Regions from separate parts of the Homo sapiens genome. Here regions 1, 2, 3 and 5 are each linked to region 4. The links are contacts of gene promoters, found by promoter capture Hi-C in blood cells and fetal thymus (Javierre and others, 2016). All regions are on one chromosome and are shown on one strand. The core of a region is centred on a gene start or on the middle of the fragment in contact, and the rest is flanking DNA. Distances in the headings are between cores, read along the strand shown.

Region 1 (3,958 bases), core at 255-2,754, 690 kb before region 4:
TTCTGGCTATTTTGAAATGTACAATAGATTATTGTTAACTAGTATCATCCTACTGATCTATCAAACACTAGGTCTTATTTCTATCTAATTGTATATTTGTATCCATTTATCAACCTCCTTATGCTCCTTCCCTCTGCCCTTTCTGGCCTCTGGTAACCATCAATCTACTTTCTAGAGATCTTCATGAGATCCACTTTTGTAGTTCCTACATGAGTGAGAACATGTAATATTTGGTCTTCTGTGCTTGGCTTATTTCACTTAACATAATGACCTCCAGTTCCATCCATGTTGCTGCAAATGACAGGATTTCATTCTTTTTATGGCCAAATAATATTCCATTCTATATATATGTCACATTATCTGTTTATCCATTGATAGGCATTTAGGTTGATTTTATATTTTGGCTATTGTGAATAGTGCTGCATTAAACATGGGAGTGCAGATATCTCTTTAATACATTAATTTCATTTCTTTTGGATGTATACTCAGTAGTGCAGTTGCTGGATCATATGATAGTTCTATTTTTAGTTTTTTGAGGAACCGCCAAACTCTTCTCCATAGTGGCTATACTAATTTATGTCCCCACCAAGTGTATGAGAGTTCTCCTTTTTCCACATCCTCACCAGTATCCCTTATCCTTGTCTTTTTGAAGAAGTCATTTTAACTGGGGTGAGAAGATATCTCATTGTGATTTGATTTGCATTTCTCTGATTATTAGTGATGTTGAACATTTTTCATATACCTGTTGGTCATTTGTATGTTTTCCTCTGAGAAATGTCTGTTCAGATCTTTTGCCCACTTTTAAATTGGATTAGTTGGTTTTTTGCTACTGAGTTGTTTGAGCTCTTTATATATTCTGGTTATCAATTCCTTGCTACATGGATAGTTTGCAAATATTTTCTGCCATTATATGGGTTGTCTCTTCATTTTGTTTATTGTTTTCTTTTCTGTGCAGAAGCTTTTAAGCTTGATAGAATCCCATTTGTCTGTTTTTGCTTTGGCTGCCTGTGATTTTGAGGCCTTATTCAAAATCTTTGCCCAGATCTATGTCCTGGAACATTTTCCCAATGTTTTCTTCTAGTAATTTCACAGTTTTGGGTCTTCAATATAAGTTTTTAATCCATCTTGATTTGATTTTTTTATATGGTGAAAGATAGGATTCTAGTTTCATTCTTCTGTATATGAATATCCAGTTTTCCCAGCACAGTGTATTGAAAAGACTATCCTTTCACCCTATGAATGTTCTTGGTGCCTTTGTTGAAAATGAGTTGGCTATCGAATACTATGCAGCCATAAAAAAGGATGAGTTCATGTCCTTTGTAGGGTCATGGATGAAGCTGGAAACCATCATTCTGAGCAAACTATTGCAAAGACAGAAAACCAAACACCGCATGTTCTCACTCATAGGTGGGAATTGAACAATGAGAACACCTGGACACAGGGTGGGGAGCACCACACACTAGGGCCTGTCATGGGGTGGGGGGAGGGGGGAGGGATAGCATTAGGAGATATACCTAATGTAAATGACGAGTTAATGGGTGCAGCACACCAACATGGCACATATATACATACGTAACAAACCTGCACATTGTGCACATGTACCCTAAAACTTAAGGTATAATTAAAAAAAAAAAAGAAAGAAAGTGAGTTGGCTATAAATGCATGGGTTTATGTCTGGATTCTCTATTCTGTTTCATTGGTCTATGTGTCTGTTTTTATGCCAGTACCATACTGATTTGGTTACCATAGCTTTGTAGTACATTTTGAAGTTAGGTAGTGTGAGGCCTCTAACATCCCTTGAAATTATCAGATGAATTTCTCTTGAAATTATCAGATGAATTGGAGTCCTTTATATGTTACTTGCTTCTTTCTTCTAGCTGCTTTTAGGATCCTCTCTTTATCCTTTACCTTTGAGGATTTGATTATTAGATGACTTGAGTTAGTATTATTTGGGTCGAATCTCTTTGATATTCTCTGACCTTCCTCTACCTGGATATTTATGTATTTCTCAAGTTTTGGAAAAATTTCAACATTATTTCTTTGAAGCTTTTACCTTTTGCTCTTGTTCAACTCCCTCTTAGACACAAATAATTCTTAGATTTGGTCTTTTCTGGTAATATTCTATTTCATGTAGATCATCTTCATATTTTTCATTGTTTTTCTTCTTTCTCCTCTGATCGTATTTTCAAATGCTTGTCTTCAAGCTCTCCGATTCTTTCCTCTGCTTGATCCATTCTGTTGTTGAGAGCCTCTAATGATTTTTTTCAGTTCAGCCAATGTATTTCTCAGTTGCAAGATTTTTGTTTTTTAAAAATTATTTTAATATTGTTGCTAAATTTCTCAGATGAATTCCTGAATTGCTTTCTGTGTTAACTTGGAGATCACTGAATTTCCTTAAAACTGCTATTTTTTTATGTGAGAGAGCTCACATATCACTCTCTCAGTGGCATCAGTAGCTGGTTCCTTGGTTTGTCCATTTGGAGAGATAATGGTTTCCTGTTTGCTATTGCTTCTTGGGGATGTCTTTCTATGTCTTTGCATTGAAAGGTTATTTATTCCAATCTTCCCTGTCTGGCTTGTTTTGTTTTTTACTTGACTTGTTTTCTTAGAGATTCTTTTTAGTTTACCTGTTGATTTTTTTTTTCTAGGTTGCTGCCTTCTTTTTGTTGCTGGATGGTACCTTAAGCCAAAGTTTGCCTGGCTGTAGTAAATGATTGGGTTGCTGCCCATACTGAATGGGAAAAGTCCAAAGGGGATATTCTGGCAGTGTTGGGAGGCTGGCCAGGGGCTCATGCCCAGGGGATCTATGGAATATACCTCCTGTAGCATGGTGCTGTGGAATAGCCCCTCTGATTTGGCATCTCCTTTGATTGAGTTAAGGAACAGTTTCCAGGACTGAGATCCAGTGTAGAAACTGTGAGTTGGGGGAAGTATTCCACACACTTCGTGGTGGGCAGATTATGGGGAAAGGCATCAAATACCTTACAGCTTGCCTGGAGTTTTTTCACTTCTTTGTGGCCCTGAGAACTGTCTCTTCCTCACGTTTGAATTCTGGGATATTGCTGATGATAAATTGGTGCTGTATATTTGTTTTCCATTTTCTGTGGGGGTGGAGGGAGTGAAGCCAGCTTGGTTCTTTGTCATTTTGGAACTGGAACAAAAGTATATATTTTTAGTAAAGTTAAAATTATTTTTTCATCAGCAAGTGTTAAAAGTTATTTTGTTCAAAATGACTTAGTATTGTTGCTATAGAGATGGCTTTGATAGGTACTTGAAAAAGTTACTACGCTTATTTTAAAAAACGGTTCAAAATCTTGTTTCCATAATTACTCAAACTTTTTGATTTGCATGTTCTCTTTGAATGTGTTTTGGAGTAAATTTTAAGACTCCTCAGTTCTTGAAGAAGAATTTTCTTATGCTTCAAGGTTTATTTCTTCCGTATATTATCTCCCCTAATCTTTTTTTTTTTTTTTTTTTTTTTTTTGAGACAGAGTTTCACTTTTGTCATGCAGGCTGGAGTGCAATGTTGTGATCTCAGCTCACTGCAACCTCTGCCTCCCAGGTTCAAGCGATTCACCTGCCTCAGCCTCCCAAGTAACTGGGATTACAGGTGTGTACCACCATGCCCGGGTAATTTTTGTATTTTTATTAGAGACGGGGTTTCACCATGTTGGTCAGGCTGGTATTGAACTCCTGACCTCCGGTGATCCGCCCACCTCGGCCTCCCAAAGTGCTTGGATTAAAAGCATGAGCCACCACACGTGGCCTTATCTCCCCTATTCTATATATTTACTGCATACTCCAGCTGCTCAATTTCGCTCAGTTTCTGTTTTCTTTTTTTTTTTTCTCTAACACGGTTACTATTTTTGTTTGAGTGTGTATTTTTATAGACACTGTCTGCAAATATAAGAATATATACGTACACTATATATATATTTCTTTGAAGTGATACCATACT
Region 2 (4,063 bases), core at 360-2,859, 720 kb before region 4:
GACTTACCAGGCAACATCCTTTTAGCTTTTCACTTTTGTAGCAGACGCAATAACCCTTTTTGTCATATAAGATTTCCTAGCTTTAGTAGTGAGCAATATTAATTTATAAAAGCTCTCTAAAGCCAGTCTTGATTAACTGCTTGTAAGTTGCTAATACCCTCTGTTTTCTTATAATGTGAATAGTTTTCTTTAGGGTTTGAATGTTTTGTGAATAAATGATGCTTCAAGAGAGATGGTTTCATGCTGTTTTCTTTAACAACGATGCCTCAAGGGCAGAATCTCTCAGGGGCTCTCTGGAGCAGTGCATTCTTTCATAATTAGGAGTCACTTTCCCAGGAGGATTATATATCTGAGGACATTATCTTACATATACTCGTACCTTTCTTCTTAATGCTTTATGAATTCTAACAAATTTCAAGCTATTAAACAGCATTAGTTTATTATAAGATAGCGTACCATGAACAGGCTTTTTAAGGTCTGATCTACATTATTAGCAATTAAGATATTTTTATAAAGGATGTCAGTTAAGTTCCTTTTATGCCCTCTTCCAAAATTTGTTTAGCAAGTACCTTGTTTTAGTCATGGGTGTATAACTGTAGCATCACTAATGTTCTCTGGACACAGAAGAAAACTCTGCACCTTTAATAAGCAAGTACTTTTGTTAGCTGTTGACACAACTCCATTTATGTCAACATCTAATCTACAAATGCATTCTATATTTCATGTATATAACAGGAATCAGCCATATATTTCTTTCTTTTCAAGATATTTGCCAATTGACTACAATGAATACTTTAGAGATCTATTGGGAAACTAAGTTAAGAAAATTATGATGACTCCAGAATTATTGCCGGATAAATTTGTTTATCTGCAGTTTCTATTCCATTGAGTTAACAGTGTCTGATTTGAAAATATTCTTTAAAAATTGATAACTCTGGATTATTAGGATAAAAAAACCGCATTATAGTTTACCTAGCTATCAAGATCATTTAAAAGTGGCATAACTGAACTGAAGTTTCCTTTTTGTCATATCGTATAATTAGCATCTATATTTATTACTTATGATTTTATTGATATCACAGATTCTTTTGTTTACATTTATATTGTAAACATATATTAATTTATGCTCTAAGGAAGTATTTGAGAAAACCTGGTTTTATTTGGTCAGATAGTATGCAAATTTAAAGGGAATGAATCTAAAGCTTCCCCATTAAGTATAATCTTTGACACAGTGTTTTGATATATAATCTTTACCATTCTAAGGAAATGTCCTTTTATTCCTATTTCTGTTACCAAGTTAAAGAAATACACTTGTATTTCTAGTTTTCTAAGAATTACTTTAAGACATAAATGGGGTTGAACTTTATTAAATGCTTTTTCTTCATTGATTGAGAGAATCAAATGATTTTTTTCTCCTTTAGTCTATTAATACGTTGAAGTACATTTGAGTTGGATCATCCTTACATTCAAGGAGTTAAATGGTATTGATTATAATATGGTATGTTTCCTAGTTGTGTAGGATTTTTTGTTGTTGTTTGTTTGTTTGTTTTTTGAGACGAAGTGTTGCTCTGTTGCCAGGCTGGAGTGCAGTGGCAGGATCTCAGCTAACTGCAACCTCTGCCTCCCAGGTTTAAGTGATCCTCCTGCTTCAGCCTCCTGAGTAGCTGGGACTACAGGCATGCGCCACCACGCCTAGCTAATTTTTGTATTTTTACTAGAGATGGGGTGTCACCATGTTAGCCGGGATGGTCTCGATCTCTTGACCTTGCGATCCACCCACCTCAGCCTCCCAAAGTGCTGGGATTGCAGGCATGAGCCACCACGCCCAGCTAGGATTTTTATATTTAAGTTTTGGCTTATGTTTTGGCTCCAAATATATGTCAGTGGAATTGGCCTGTGCTTTGCTTATCTTGTGTCAAAATTATATTATTTTCATAAAATGAGCTGTATGGCTTTATTTTTTTTAAATTTAATTTTATGGAACAATTTACTTAAGATACGAATTAATGGTTCCTGAAAAGCTTAGTAGGATTCACCTGCAAAACTGTAACAATTGTTATATGTACCCTACTCATATGCCTTCAGCCCATTCCAAATGGTACCTGCAAATGGTTCCTGAACATAACAATTGCATCCTGTGCCTCTATGCCTAAGGGCATTTTATGGCCAAGGGAACAGGCCTAACCTGAAGAGGAGAGACAGGCATGCCAATGAGCTAATATATAAATACCCCAGACCCCTTGCTCTTCAGTGGGTTGATTCTGAGAAGGTCTCATCATGGCCAAGATTTGCCCCTAGAAATAATCTACTCTTTAATTGACATCTATTGGCTTTCCTACCTTTCATGTTTCACTTCTTCACTCTGACTATACTTTTTTGGATTGTCATTCAAATAAACTTCTTTGCATCAAATGTTGGGCTCAGGATCTGCTTGTAGAAAAGCCTGAAATAATACAAAAGCCATCTGGGCCTAATATTTTCTGTAGAAGAGCTACATTAAAACATTTTTTAGTTGAGATATTTATATAGTAAAATTAACTATTTTAAAGTATACAAGTTAGTGGTTTTTAGTACATTAACAGTGTCATGCAACCATCACAATTTGTCCAATTCCAGAACATTTTCATCACTATCTTCCCAAAAAACCCCTGTACCCATTAGTAGTCACTCCCTTACTTCCCTATACCCCTGCAATCACTAATCTACTTTCTTATTCTATGGAGTTATCTGTACTGGACATTTCCTATTATGCTTTTACGGCTCATCTGTGTTGTAGCAAGAATTAATATTTTGTTTCTTTTTATGGCTGAATTACATTCCATTGTATGGTTATACCACATTTTTTTTTCATTCATCAATCGAAAGACACTTTTGTTGTTTATACTTTTTGGCTATTGTGAATAATGCTGCTGTGCACATTCATTTGCAAGTTGTGTAAAGATTTGTTTTCAATTATCTTGGATATTACCTAGGAGTGGAATTCCTGGGTTATATGATAATTCTATGTTTAAGTTTTTGAGGAACTACCAAGTTGTTTTTCACAGTAACTATATCATTTTACATTCCCACCAACAATGTACAAGAGTTACACTATCCTCACATCTTCACCAACACTTATTTTCTGTTCTTTTAAAAAATGACATATATTTCAGTGGGTATGAAGTGGTATCTCATTATGGCTTTTGATTTGCATTTTCCAGTGACTAATGACATTGAGCATTACTTCTTATGCTTTTTGGCCACTTGGATATGTTTATGCAGAAATATTCAAGTCCTTTGTCCATTTAAGGTTGGGTTGTTGTTGGGTTGTAAGAGTTCTTTATATATTTTGGATGCCAGACCCTTATCAGATGTATAATTTGCAAATATTTTTTCTTATTCTGTGGGTTGTCTTTTCATTTTCTTGAAAATGTCCTTTGATACTTAAAAGGTTTTTTTGATGAAGTCCAATTTATCTATTTTTTGTTTGGTTGTTTGTTCTTTTGGCATAATATCTAAGAAACAGTTGCCTAAACCAAGGTCATGAAGATTTATTCCTAATTTTCCTTTAATAATTATGTAGCTTTAGTTCTTACATTGAGGTCTTTGATCCATTTTAAGTTAATTTTTGTGTATGGTATGAGTTAGGGGTCCAACTTCACTGTTTTGCATGTGGATATCAAATTGTTCCAGTGCCATTTATTGAAAAGACTATTCCAATTGAACGATCTTGGCTCCCTTGTTGAAAATCAGTTGACCATAGATGTATGGGTTTATTTCTGAACTCTCAATTCTATTCCCTTGACCTGTATGTCTATCCTTATGCCAATATCTCAGTCATTATAACTGTAGCTTTGTAGTAAGTTTGAAATCAGGATATCTGAATTGTATAAGAGGTCTCTGATACCTCATTAGTTCCTACTGGTATATTTTAAAGACTAGCTGTATTTATTTTATTCTATTTATTTTTAAGTTTTAGGTTCAGGGGTACATGTTCAGGTTTGTTACATAGGTAAATTTGTGTCAGGGGGGTTCATTGTGCAGATTATTTCATCACTCAGGTATTAAGCCTAGTATCCATTAG
Region 3 (4,189 bases), core at 891-3,390, 660 kb before region 4:
GGAAGACAGCTTCTGTATTCAATATATTGAGATATCACACATACTTTAGCCTCTGGAAAACTCCACTGTACACCCAAGAGAGAATGAGAATCAAAAAGGCAAATAACATTTTAGTATTATGCATATAGGTTTGACCCTGCAGATCCTCTGAAAGGGATTTGGGGATTCTACTGAGGGCACTGGATTACACTTTTAAGAACTGCTAGATTTTGGAATAAATTTTCCGTAGTCTCCTCCTCTACCACCAACAGAGTATTGGATTGTATGTGGACAAGATTATATAAGGTAACATAACATATATGGAACACTCAGCTTCCTTGACTGTTTTTCACTTGATTTCTGCTTTTGTCCTTGAGTTTGTCTATGTGGTTTATTTTCTCTGCTCCTCCTGGTAAGAAAATGCAGTAGATCCTTACTGACTCTTATTTCTAGGAGGAATAGATAGGAATATGTTTAATATGTAGTGAATTGAGACAGAGTTTTTCTAAATCATCCTGGCATATTTTGACTGTGGTATTTACCTGCAAAGGTGCTGTAGCCATTGAGAGATTTGATTTAAAACCCAAGAGGAGTTTTTAAACTGTAGTTTTTCACTTATAAGGAGTTTGTAGAAATTGTCTTTTTTTTTTCTTTGAGAGTCTTGCTCTGTCACCCAGGCTGGAGTGCAGAGGTACAGTCATAGATCACTGCAACCCCTAGCCCCTGAGATCAAGCAATCTTCCTACCTCAGCCTCCTAAGTAGCTAGGACTATAGGTGAATGCCATCACACCCAGCTAATTTTTTATTTTTGTTAAGATGGGGTCTGACTATGTTGCCCAGGCTAGTCTCAAACTCTGGCCTCAAGCAATCTTCCTGCCTTGGCCTCTTAAAGCGCTGGCATTACAGGATGAACCACCACACCCAGCCTCATTTAAAAAAAAGTGTGTGTATCTATTTTTATGTATGTGTTTTTTTCTGTATGTGTAATACTTAATAATGGTACTAATTGTTATTTCTCTTGAGTGTTTTTGTTTAATTTTGTGTGACCTTTTTTATCCCTAGGAATCCTGAAGAGTGAATTAGTCCCATGAATCTCAAGATAGCTCAATATATGATAAATTCACTATTGTCATAAGATTTGGGATGCATCTTAGTGTTATTAACATTAATATGTTGTGTAGATTTCTTCTTTAGTAAGCTGCAGCTACTCTTGTTTTTTTAAATAACTAAGTCAGCAAAAATAAATAGTACAGAGAGTCAAAATTTTTGTCACATATAATCAACTATTTTTATTTCTGTGATACATACCTGAGAGTTGCTAACATCTATTATTTGACACAGTTGGAAATTTTAAGGTATGGTCTGGAACTCTTTGTTTGGAAATAAGGTCTTTCAAGGTTGGTTTGAAGGTTATTAGTAGAACAGTTCTCACTTTGCTTACCTAATTACACAGTGCTTGAGCTGGAAAATTAAACTTTATTTTGACTTCCCAATCCCTACTAATGCAATCTCTCTTCCACTTTTTCTTTTCATTTCTTCTTTTATTATATTTCCACCTGAACTTTTTTGTCTATTTCTTAGAGCTAGTTTTCACCTTATTTTTCCTCATTGATATTTTCAAATTCCTATTGAGTTTTCTGTATATTTAATCTCTTTAATCACTTTAGTCTTCCTTTCCTCTGCCTCAGACTTAATCAGTTGTGATAAAGCAGGATTAATAAATTTTAGTTACATCTCTCAGAAATATTTATAATATTCTTCATATAACCAAGATGGCAAGACTACAGTGTGTGGGGAGTCAAAATTGTTGCAATATAAAATAACTTTTTCATTTCTGTGATATATATCTGAAACTCACTTATATGAAAAATTTAACATAAAGTTTTGAGATATAACTTAAAACCCCTGTCTGGAAAGTGGTAAGACAACAGATTCTCTTCTATTTGACTTCGTTTAATAAGAATTAGAGTCATGAGGGTGGAAGGATTATGAAGATTTGATTTGTGCTCTTGCAATATTTCTTTTTTCTGTCTAAACATGTTTGAATCTATGCTTTATTGTTTTATTCTCTCAGAAAACATAAGGCTTAAGGGTTATGTTTATCTTCAAGGCTGAAGGCCTTGTTCTTTTTATCTGTATTTTTACATCACCTTTGGATTTTAAATTCCAAGGACCCTTAGAAACTATAACACTAACTTACATTTTAAATGAGAGTTCCATAAGAAGTTGCTGAATGACAGATACAGTAGTACCGTGGAAGGAGCACTGGACTATAAATCACAAGCTCTAGGTACTAGTTCTAACTTTGTCACCAGCCATTTGGTCCAAAAAGCCTTGGATGAAACAGTGCATCACATCTCTTTTCTGTAGACGGAGGAGGTTTAGATTCTATTTTAAATGTGATAAGATACTATTGTAGGGTTTAAACATGGAAGGAGCATGATATTATTTTGTGTGTGTGTGTGTGTGGGCAATCTTTGGTGGAGAATGGTTTGTAGAGGACAAGATTAATGCACCGAGAAGCTAGGAGATTATTGAAGTCATCCATTAGAGAGATGTTGGTAGATGGAACTAGAATTATAGTAGTGAGATGGAAAATGTTCATGGATTTGTGTTCCATTTTGAAGATAGAGTTGATAGAACCTACCGATAGATTTGATTTGTGTGGTGGAGTGTGAAAGCAAAAGAGATATCAAGGTTAATTCCTAGATAAATCATGGTGTTGTTTTAAGACAGAAAAAAAATGGGAGGAACAGGTTTGGGTGAGGAAATCAGGAATTCTGTTTGGCCTTGTTATGTTTGAGATGCCCTTTTGACTTCCGTTTGGGGATTCCAAATTGACAGATGGTTAAATGAGTCTGGAGTTTTAGGGGAAGATAAGGGCAAAGATATACAGAAGATATTTAAAGCCATGGGACCTAAGTCACCGGGAAGGGGGAGCTGTAAATAAAAAGAGCAGAGAGGGTTCACAACACAGCCAAAACAGGGCCTTGGACATTCCACACATTTAAAGATCTAAGAGAGGAATGAGAGCCAACAAAAGACACTGTGAAAAAATTGACACTGTGAAAGAAAATCAGAAGAATGTGTCTCAGGAATGAAGAGTAAAAATGGTTTAAAAGTCATGGATAGCATTAGTGTCAAATGATACAGATAAGTCATGGTAAAAAAAGAACAGAGAATTGTCTGTTTAGTTTGATAACATGCAAGTAATTGGTGAGAACAATCTCAATAGAACATTAGTGCTAGAAAATTGATTAGTATGGATTTAAAAGAGGATGTGAAATGAAAACATGGCCATAGCAACTAAAGACAACTTCTTCAAGAAATTTTGCTGTGAAGAGGAGCAGAAAAATGGGGTAGTACCTGGAAGGGAATATGAGGTCAAGGGAAATTCTGTTAAGATAGGAAATAATATAGTAATAAAATCACTGATAACTTGATTCACATATACAATTAATATTATTTGTTTATCATTACAAGTATCATTGGAACCAAGGGAGTTCTAAAATAGACTAAAGAGTAAATAAACTAGGTATTTTATGGAGGAGCTGGTAATAAAAAGGGTAAGACAGATGGAAAATTGATAGAATAGATCTTGTTTATATTATATTTTCCTTTCTTTTCTATTTTCACATTTGGTGCTTAAACACCTTTACTTTTAAGTAGCTAGGATCTTTGATTAATCCTGATCTCTGTCCATATTTACAGGTCAGACAAATTATATTTTTTAAGTTGATAAGATTAGATTGAAATACATTTAGATTTGCATGAGTTTATTTGCATCAGATCTTCTGTTTTGGCTGAAAAAAGACTAAAAATTTTATTTGCTTACCTTTCACCAAAGGAGGAAAGGGGGATGATGGAAGAGGCTAAGAAGATGTCTATTCCTAGACTACATTTCATAGGCTAGATCTGGGTTTTATGGATTGAGTGATTTCAGGCCAAAAGAGCTATTTTCCCGAGAGTTGTTTTGAAGCACAGGAAAACAAGCAGCAATTCTTCAGTTTCCAAATGGCAGAATATATAACAGAGTTGATCATAATATTTTTCTTAAAATACTGTCTTTTATTGTCTTCCGGGCTACCACACTCTCTCTCTTGACTTTTCTCTTACCTCTGTGGCTGCTCCTCTTCTGTTTCCTTCACTGGCTTCTCCTTCTTTAACTGATGAGTTAATGTGGAACTTAGCTCCTCAATGCTTTGTCAT
Region 4 (4,316 bases), core at 369-2,868:
ACTTTGGAAGGAGCCATTTCTCTCAAGGCAGCTCAAAACACAGGACTTAGGGAGGATGTGGGCTTTACTTTAGCCCAAGTGCTGAGAGTAGAATTTTTACTCTATGTTCCTGTAAAGCTGCTCTGTTAGTCTCTTGATCTTGTGTTGAGGAGCTTTGGGGAAATGTTGCAGGGGTGTCCAATCTTTGGCTTCTCTTGTCTTGGGCCACACATGAAATATACTAACACTAACGACAGCCAATGAACTAAGAAAAAAAATCTCATAATGTTTTAAGAAAGTTTATGAATTTGTGTTGGGCCGCATTCAAAGCTGTCCTGGGCTGCATGCGGCCTACAGGTTGGACAAGTTTGGTTTAAGTTTCCTTTCATTGACCCAAACTTCTAGGCCTTTGTATCTAGAGAAACCCAAGCCTACCTTCACCTGGGGAGTGGTGATCTGATTACCCTCCTGCAACATCAGTAAAACTATGGGTACTCCAGCAGCAAGAATGTTGTGTCCCCAGCGCAAGTGGGATGGAGAAAAGAGCCTGCTGCGAGGCTGCGTTGGTGTGTGTGAGTGTTGCGAGATCATTTCTGGAATACTTTCTCTTCTAAACCCTGGTCGGGGCTATATTTTTTCTACTGGGGGTGGGAGTGGGGGCAGAGGGTAGGGGACGGGAACGTGAACACGGTGGGCATCTAGCCTACTCAGACACATTACCTGCTACACTGCTCACTTTGAGTCAAGGCTGTAACTACCAGGTGAATGGATTTTTCATTTGGTTTTGGTTGGGGATAAAGGATGGGTCGAAATGGTTGGGAGAAATGGCTGGAAGTGCCTACTTTAAAAAAAGATTCTAAAGAATGTATGGAAGATTTGCGACTTCCACAGAACACCAATCAAAATGGGGTTGCGGGGAGATTTGGGGAGTAAGCGGTATAGAGAAATTAGGGTAAGGGGATGGCCTTAAACTCGTCAAATTAACCACTAAAGGAGGAGTCGAGGGCATCTGGTTGAGCCAAGGCTGCTCGGCTGCCGCCGAGAAGGGGCGCCTGAAAGGGACCCCAGCGAAGAGAATCTGAGTCCCCTCTGACACCCGCCGGGGCTGCGCTCCTTCCCGCCCACCCAGCTCCTCGGCGCCGCGCCGCGCGAGGCGGCCCTGCTGAGGACCCCGGGACGACTGGGGAGGCTGCCCGAGCCTCCGTGGGTACCGCGGGGCGGGGGCGCGGCGGGGCGGGTACCTTGGTGCCCTGGTGGAAGTCGTCGATGGACCGCGAGCCCATGAAGGGGAACTGCATGTGCGTGTGTGTGTCGATGCCTCCGGGCAGGACGAGCTTGCCGGCGGCGTCGAGGACCCGCAGCCCCGCAGGAGCGCCCCCGGGAGGCAGCAGGTCGTGCCCGAGTGCCCGCACCACGCCGTCCTCCACCAGCACGTCGGCCACCTCCGAGAAGTCATCGTTGACCACGCGACCCCCGCGGATCAGGAGCCGCGAGGGCGCCGCCATAGCGAGGGGCGCGCGGGGTCCTACTCGGCCCGGGCTGCGCGCAGGGGCTGGGTTGGGCGGGCCGGGCGGGCTTGGGGTGCCCTCCTGCAAGGTCCCCACCGACAGCCCCCGAGCTCTGCCTCAGGCTGCAAATCCGGAGCCCGGCGGCCTGACGGGTTTATGACCTGGCCGCATATGCGGCTCCTCCCCCCGGGAAGGCTGGGCTGGAGCCCAAAGGCCGGGATTGAACAGGTCCGCATGGTCCTTGCACACTCAGACCCCAAGTGTTCTGCGCCCTGAGTTGAGGTATCCACCCAGGCTTCGGAGTCATTGGAAGGGAAAGATCTTGGAATTTTAAGAGAAAGGAACCTGCGTTTTTCATCATAAGATTAGGTGCTAAAGGGAAAGAAATCCACCTCACCCTTTCCCTTGGTTGGGGGTGTGTTTGTACCAAAAGACAGATCCAGAGGGAGAAAGAAAGCAAGAACCATCACTAGAAGCAGCAACAAAAATACCCAAACCCACCCAAGCCAGAACAGAGCCACTCGATCTGGGTTTCCTGTTAAATGTTCTTAAGCGAGGAGCAAATTATCATATAATCCCAGTAATTGGCAGACACAGGGAAGGATCAGAGTAAAATATTTAATGTATTTGAAAGAAAACGACTTGGTGTCAACTATTCTCCACAGTTTAATGATACAACACATACCAGCAAGTGTTTCTTGGAAAATAACCGGTACTGTAACTCTAAAGATTTAAATTTCTACTCCCAGCTTTTCCACAAAACCAGTTTAGAGATCTTCAGTTAAATCTTTTATTCTCTTGGTTCCTCAGTTTTCTCATATATAAAATTGATTAATACTTGTTCTTGCCTTCCATATTTGCTTTGAGAAGCAAATATGATCATGGCTGTGAATACACCCTAATAAAGTGGGAAGCACCATGCAAATTCACTTAAATACTGGCTTTGTAAGGACTACAAAGCTTACCTGACTAGGGGGATTGGCTAGAGGGCTAAGTGGGAAAGATAAACCACATTTCCACCCTCAAGTAGCTAACAGCCAACAGTGACACACATTCATATTTCAATATATAAAACAGAACATTCTATCTTTGAGAAGGGATAAAGATAAGAATTTAGAGGAAAGAGTGAGTTTATTTCTGGCTTAAAGACATCAGATATGGAAGATTTGTGAAGAGGTATTTGAACTAGGATACAGAGAATGTGAACACGCAGAGGTGAGTGGTGGGAAGAGGACATAGTGCTCCAGGTAGAGTGAACAGAGCGTGTAAAGGCACAGAGAGGATGAAGGAATGCACTCCCTGTGGTTAAGCTATGAGGGATAGGCTTACACTGAATCCTGGACCATCCCTTTGCTTATAGGGGAGGAGGAGGAAGAAGAGACAGAGTGGTCAGAGAGAAGGGAGACCACAGGTCTGTGTGATGGAAGGCAGGAATGCAGAATTTTAAGAAGGGCAACAGGATGGAATCTTGCAAAAGGGTTATGAAGGGTCATGGGGAGGTGGGGTGGACATCTGCTGACCAGGCATATATTCTTGTCCTTATTCTGGTAACAGTCACTGGCATTTCTTTGGTGGGAAATCCTCTGCCTGAAGTCTCAGAACACTTGTTTTGGAGAAACTGATGGTGAGAGACAGGACTAGCTGGATTTCCTAGGCTGACTAAGAATTCCTAAGCCTAGCTGGGGAAGGTGACTACACCTACCTTTAAACATGGGGCTTGCATCTCAGCTCACACCCTACCAGTCAGGTAGTAAAGAGGGCTCACTAAAATACAAATTAGGTTAAAAGCAGGAGGTAAAGAAATAGTCAAATCATATATCACCTGAGAGCACAGGAGGAGGGACAATGATCAGGATATAAACCCAAGCATTCCAGCAGGGAGCGGCAACCCCCTTTGGGTCCTCTCCCATTGTATGGGAGCTCTGTTTTCACTCTATTAAATTTTGCAGCTGCACACTCTTCTGGTCTGTGTTTGTTACGGCTTGAGCTGAGCTTTTGCTCACCATCCACCACTGCTGTTTGCTGCCGTCACAGACCCGCCGCTGACTTCCACCCCTCTGAATCCAGCAGGGAGTCCGCTGCGCTCCTGATCCAGCGAGGCGCCCATTGCCGCTCCAGTTCAGGCTAGAGGCTCGCCATTGTTCCTGCATGGCTAAGTGCCCGGGTTTGTCCTAATCTAACTGAACACTAGTCGCTGGGTTCCGTGGTTCTCTTCCTTGACCCACGTTTTCTAATAGAACAATAACACTCACTGCATGACCCAAGGTTCCATTCCATGGAATCCATGAGGCCAAGAACCCCAGGTCAGAGAACAAAAGGCTTGCCGCCATCTTGGGAGCGGCTCACCACCATCTTGAGAGCACTAAGAACAAAGACCTGCCTGTAACAATGGGACCTCTAGCTCTGCAACTGAGCTCTCACCTAGACTCTTCCAATCAAGGCAGGGAATCCTCAAACCACAGTGATGATACAGGGATGGGCACATGCTCCAAACTTCTCATGCCCAAGAAGTGAGTGCAGATCCCAAGACTTCTTATTTTTAGGTTGAGCAGATAAGAGGCTTGTTCTTTCCTCTTGGACTTGAATTCTAGGGAGTGTAAACAAGGGGCTTCTGGGAGCCTTCTAGACAACACAGAGAAATAGCCCTTCTGTGAACAGAGCCAACACCAAGAACAGGAAGGAGAGACGGAGAGAGGCTGGGTTCTCATGACACTGAGTTCCTGAATCCCACCATGCCTAAAGGCCCCTCCCCTAGACTTCCCACTTTTGGCTTAAGCTGATTTGAGTCTTTTGTCACTTGCAGGGTCCACTGACAGACACTGGGAAGAT
Region 5 (4,249 bases), core at 1,604-4,103, 700 kb before region 4:
TACTCGGGAGGCTGAGGCAGGAGAATGGCGTGAACCTGGGAGGCGGAGCTTGCAGTGAGCAGAGATTGTGCCACTGCACTCCAGCCTGGGCGACAGAGCGAGACTCCGTCTCAAAAAAAAAAAAAAAAAAAAAAAAGAAAAGAAAAAAGAAAGGCCAAGAAAAGGCCAGACTTGACTTCCAGAACTGTCCTTTGTTCTAGTGTGGCATGAGCATAACTACATGTCCCAGACATGACACCTATCTATAGTGAGGGATGAGATGACTTTGCAGAAGAAGCTGCAGAATAGACAGCTTTTGCCATAGTGGAATAGAGGGTCATTCAGGGACTAAGTGTTTGGCAGTGCTGGTGGGAACCGAAGTGAGATCAGGTTTATTGAGAAGTGCAAGTCTGTCTAAGTTGAGAAGAATCAGACTATCGATTGGATGAGCTGCAGGTTGTGTAGCAGCATAAGCCTCACAGAACACCTGAATACTTTCTTGGAGAACAGCCAAAAAAGGAGCAGAAATATCAGAAATAGAGAACTTGTCCAAAGGAGCTATTATTTATTGGACTACAATTTACTGAGTAGCTTTAAAGAAGAATCTGGCAAGTGTGCTGTTGACAAAAATCAGATCAAAAATAGAGAAATAAATACGCTACCTTTCTTTGTGAGTAAATTTTTCAAAGCCACAGCGATAGCCAACATAGAAGGATTTGTAACAGCTAAGACTGGGAAATGCTTAAGGTTAAAGCTCTCAGGAGGATGTGCTGTTGCCTCCCAAGAGATTTAATGAAGACCCATCAGACATTCCTGCTTCAGCCTGTAAGTGTGACTATTGCTAGAAATGCTGTGATTACAATTCATGGTAAATCTGGAAGTTCTGCTGCTTGTATCAGGGGCATCAGATGAAGAAAATTTCTGATTTTTGTTTTGTAATCCAGAATCTTAGTATTTACAGATGACAGTATCTCTTAATTGCCTAAGGAATCCTATTAGAAAATGTTAACCTTCTGGGATATGAGCCAATGTGTCTACTTTCAAAATCCACCATGGCAGTGCTGGGTGAGGGCTTGTAGTTTAGTAGCGCAAGCTACCCTTGAATTCTGCCTTTTTAGAGACACAGACACCATGGATCTGATCATGGGAATGCTTTAGGGTAATGCTCTGGTTGAGCCTCTGGATTTCCAGACCTATTGTAGATCTCTGCATTCTTGTTTTTTTTCCAAACACAATGTGGGCCAGAGGGAAAGATCTATGGTGGGACTGCATTCCTTTTGTAACATTTACCGTAATTATAACAATATTTGTGCAATTATTTGTTTGCTTATTGTCTCCCTAGTACACTTTATACTCTGTAGCAAAATGTATATTTGTTGAGCTTTATTCACCAGCTGTTAGCATAGCATTTGGCATATAGTAGCCATTTAGTAAATATTGTATAAGTAAATAAATAATGAATTGGTGTTAATAGTTACTTGCCCATCTATAAATAAATTGGAATTCTATGATTTCAATTAATTTTTATGGCAAATTATAGCTTCATCTAAGTTTATCTACTAAACTAAATGTAATATTATTCTTTTAGTAGAATGTAGTGAATATATTATAGTCACTGGTGTGTTCATACGTGCTAACAACCAGCTCTCTTTTAGAAAAATCTCTGACTTTTGGCATTTTCCAATTTATTTAGTCTAAATACATCCACCACAGCTGATTTCAAGCTAACCCACATTACTTCATGGAATGTGGAGTTAGGGAGAAAGCACACAATTTGTTTTCATGAGTTAGTGAACAACACCGAAGCTCTTTCATATTCATGCCCTGGTAATGGATTGTTCTTCACATACAAGATTGTGCTAGTAATACACATTGAATAAGCATGTACTTTAAAAAGACTGTGAATTAGTCAAGGTAATGCAATCAATTATAGAAGGTAAACTCAAAAAATCTTTAAAGCTCAACTTAGTAGAAGTTTAGTTTTCACCTATGTGAAGTCCACACTGGTAAGCTGATCAGCTGAGTGCTCTCCTCCTAGTGATTATTCAGGTTCCCAGGCACCTTTTTTTCCTGTGGCTTCCTTATCTCCAAGGTCTTGGCTGAACAGCATGAAGATAGCACATGAGAATTTTTAAAAGTTTATGAAAGTGGCACACCCATTCCACTTATAATCCATTGGTAGAATATAATTGTATGGTCATAGCTGCCCAAGATAACATGGAAAATGTAGTTTTCTAAGAGGAAAGGAAATAAGTTGTTGAATAGCTAGCCAGAATCTTTCACAATTTTCTATTTATGTAATGGTTACTTGATCAATTTATACTCTTTTACCTTATTTCTTCTCTGACAAATGCACACATATTTATAAGCAGGTTGGCAATGGTTAGAGGTAGAGTCTAGTGAATTCCTTTTTCTGTGCAGTTAGCTGGATCATAGGAGCTTGGCCTATGGTCTCGTTAGTGTAAGTCTTTAAACTATAATCCCTCCCTTTTTTGAATTACTCTATTTTTTTGTCCCTGTTTAGAAGAAAATCATAGTATTTTGCAGACCTTTAGATTGCTCTCAATTATTGTATATACCTAATGTAAATTTTTTTTTTTTTTTGCTTTCTTTTAGTATTCACTGCAGCTGTTATGGTTATTATTTTTGTGGTTTAAAAAAGATATTTGTATTTTCCTTAGTTTTTTTCCCTTCCTTTCCTAACATTCCTAAGAATGTTTATGGAATAAAACATATGGAAGTAAGTGACAAATTTGGGTCATTAGAGATTATTCCATCTCTTAATATTTCTATATTATTTTTAAAATTTTGACATATTTAGGACTGAAGGTAATAATAATTTATAATTTTGAACCCTGTATGTTTTGTATTCTCAGGTTCTAGATGTTTTTGGTAATTATGAGAATCAGTTAATAGTCTCTAACCAGGGAGATTTATAGGCATATATATTTCTAACATATTTTAGATGGCATTCCTTATGTGGTTAACTTAATTGGTTAAAGCGTTCTATTAGCAAAAGGCCTGTGACTTTATTGCCAAATTAGATAAATTTTGTTCCATGGACACAGAATTTATCTCTAATAGCTATTAATCATTTCATAGTCAATTAATGAAAAATCATTTCACAACATATATGTATTTGTGAGAGGTATTGGTGTGTGTGAGAGGTAATTCAATACCGTCGCCAATTTATAAGCTAAGCTGCTTTCTGTGTAAAGGGCTACAAGTGAAAGTATCAGTTTTTCTGTACTACAATTGTGTTGCTAATGATGGAGATACAGCCCAAGAAGTGCATCATTAGGCAATTTTGTCATGCTAACATCATGGAGTGTACTTAAACAAATCTAGATGGTATAGCCTTCTACACACCTAGGCTAGATGATATAGTCTGTTGCTCCTAGGCTACAAACCTGTACAACATGTTACTGTATTAAATATTGTAGGCAGTAGTAACATAATTAAAAGTGTTTATGTATCTGAACATATTTAAATATAGAAAAGGCATGGTAAAAATACGGTATTATAATATTAGGGAACCACCCTTCTATATATGGTCTTTTGTTGACTGAACTATTGTTATGCAGCACATGGCAGTACTTGATGTGGGTAGATCCGGAATTCCTGAGCTTAAAGGATTAATAAACTATTAATCCAAGAGTAGGAGGAGATGGTAGAAGAAGAAAAGAAAGGTAACCAGGGTGTCAATATATGAATAGGAAAATACTAGGAGGCATGGTGGCTCACATCTGTAATCCTAGCACTTTGGAAGGCTGAAGTGGGCAGATTGCTTGAACTCAGGCATTCAAGACCAGCCTGGGCAACATAGTGAAACCCCATCTCTACAAAAATACAAAAATTAGCTGGCGTGGTGGCACATGCCCATACTCCCAGCTACTTGAGGGACTGAGGCAGGAGATTCATTTTAACTTGGGAGGTTGAGGCTACAGTGAACTGATATTGTGCCGCTGAACTCCAGCCTAGGTGACAAGGTAAGACCCTGTTTCAAGGAAAAAAAAAAAGAAGAAGGAAGAAAGGAAGGGAGGGAGGAAGGAAATAAGGAAGGGAGAAAGCGAGGAATATAGGATAAGGGAAGGAGGGATACGGAATAAGGGAGGGAAGAAGGGAGGAAAGGAAGGATATAGGAGCTAGTGATTTAGGAAGGAACAAATGATCTAGTCAGAAAAGGAACAAGCAGTGTGCATAGCCCAGGCAATGTGAGAAGGATATTAACACATGGAGAGTCTTTAATGGGAATCAGACATCATCCTTC

What was found. Contacts are between HindIII fragments. The CHiCAGO score rates a contact against its expected background, and 5 or more counts as called.
Region 1: a contact is called between a fragment that was not itself captured here and the fragment with the promoter of DPYS in region 4, in 6 of 17 cell types (monocytes, M2 macrophages, M1 macrophages and 3 more). The highest score is 16.6, in monocytes.
Region 2: a contact is called between a fragment that was not itself captured here and the fragment with the promoter of DPYS in region 4, in 1 of 17 cell types (monocytes). The highest score is 6.9, in monocytes.
Region 3: a fragment that was not itself captured here is called in contact with the fragment with the promoter of DPYS in region 4 in 3 of 17 cell types (monocytes, total B cells and M2 macrophages); the score reaches 15.1 in monocytes.
Region 5: a contact is called between a fragment that was not itself captured here and the fragment with the promoter of DPYS in region 4, in 7 of 17 cell types (monocytes, M2 macrophages, M1 macrophages and 4 more). The highest score is 16.8, in monocytes.

The regions. Positions count from the first base shown.
Region 1 is chr8:103,778,281-103,782,238 of GRCh38, forward strand. The region is part of intron 6 of RIMS2 (regulating synaptic membrane exocytosis 2); the gene reads left to right. Among named protein-coding and RNA genes, the nearest start is that of RIMS2, 280 kb to the left of the region's middle. The HindIII fragment of the contact is 1,080 bases long and covers 965-2,044 here.
Region 2 is chr8:103,742,513-103,746,575 of GRCh38, forward strand. The region is part of intron 5 of RIMS2 (regulating synaptic membrane exocytosis 2); the gene reads left to right. Among named protein-coding and RNA genes, the nearest start is that of RIMS2, 240 kb to the left of the region's middle. The HindIII fragment of the contact is 819 bases long and covers 1,201-2,019 here.
Region 3 is chr8:103,804,186-103,808,374 of GRCh38, forward strand. All of the region lies in intron 6 of RIMS2 (regulating synaptic membrane exocytosis 2), which reads left to right. Among named protein-coding and RNA genes, the nearest start is that of RIMS2, 310 kb to the left of the region's middle. The HindIII fragment of the contact is 8,748 bases long and covers 1-4,189 here.
Region 4 is chr8:104,465,437-104,469,752 of GRCh38, forward strand. DPYS (dihydropyrimidinase) reads right to left here and starts at 1,619. Exons shown (of 10, transcript NM_001385.3): 1 at 1,221-1,619. The coding sequence starts at 1,484. It overlaps LOC105375691 (a long non-coding RNA gene), which reads left to right and starts at 334. Exons shown (of 3, transcript XR_928507.3): 1 at 334-551; 2 at 4,291-4,316. RefSeq lists an enhancer at 3,373-4,316. The HindIII fragment of the contact is 2,857 bases long and covers 1-2,445 here.
Region 5 is chr8:103,759,453-103,763,701 of GRCh38, forward strand. All of the region lies in intron 5 of RIMS2 (regulating synaptic membrane exocytosis 2), which reads left to right. Among named protein-coding and RNA genes, the nearest start is that of RIMS2, 260 kb to the left of the region's middle. The HindIII fragment of the contact is 6,588 bases long and covers 1-4,249 here.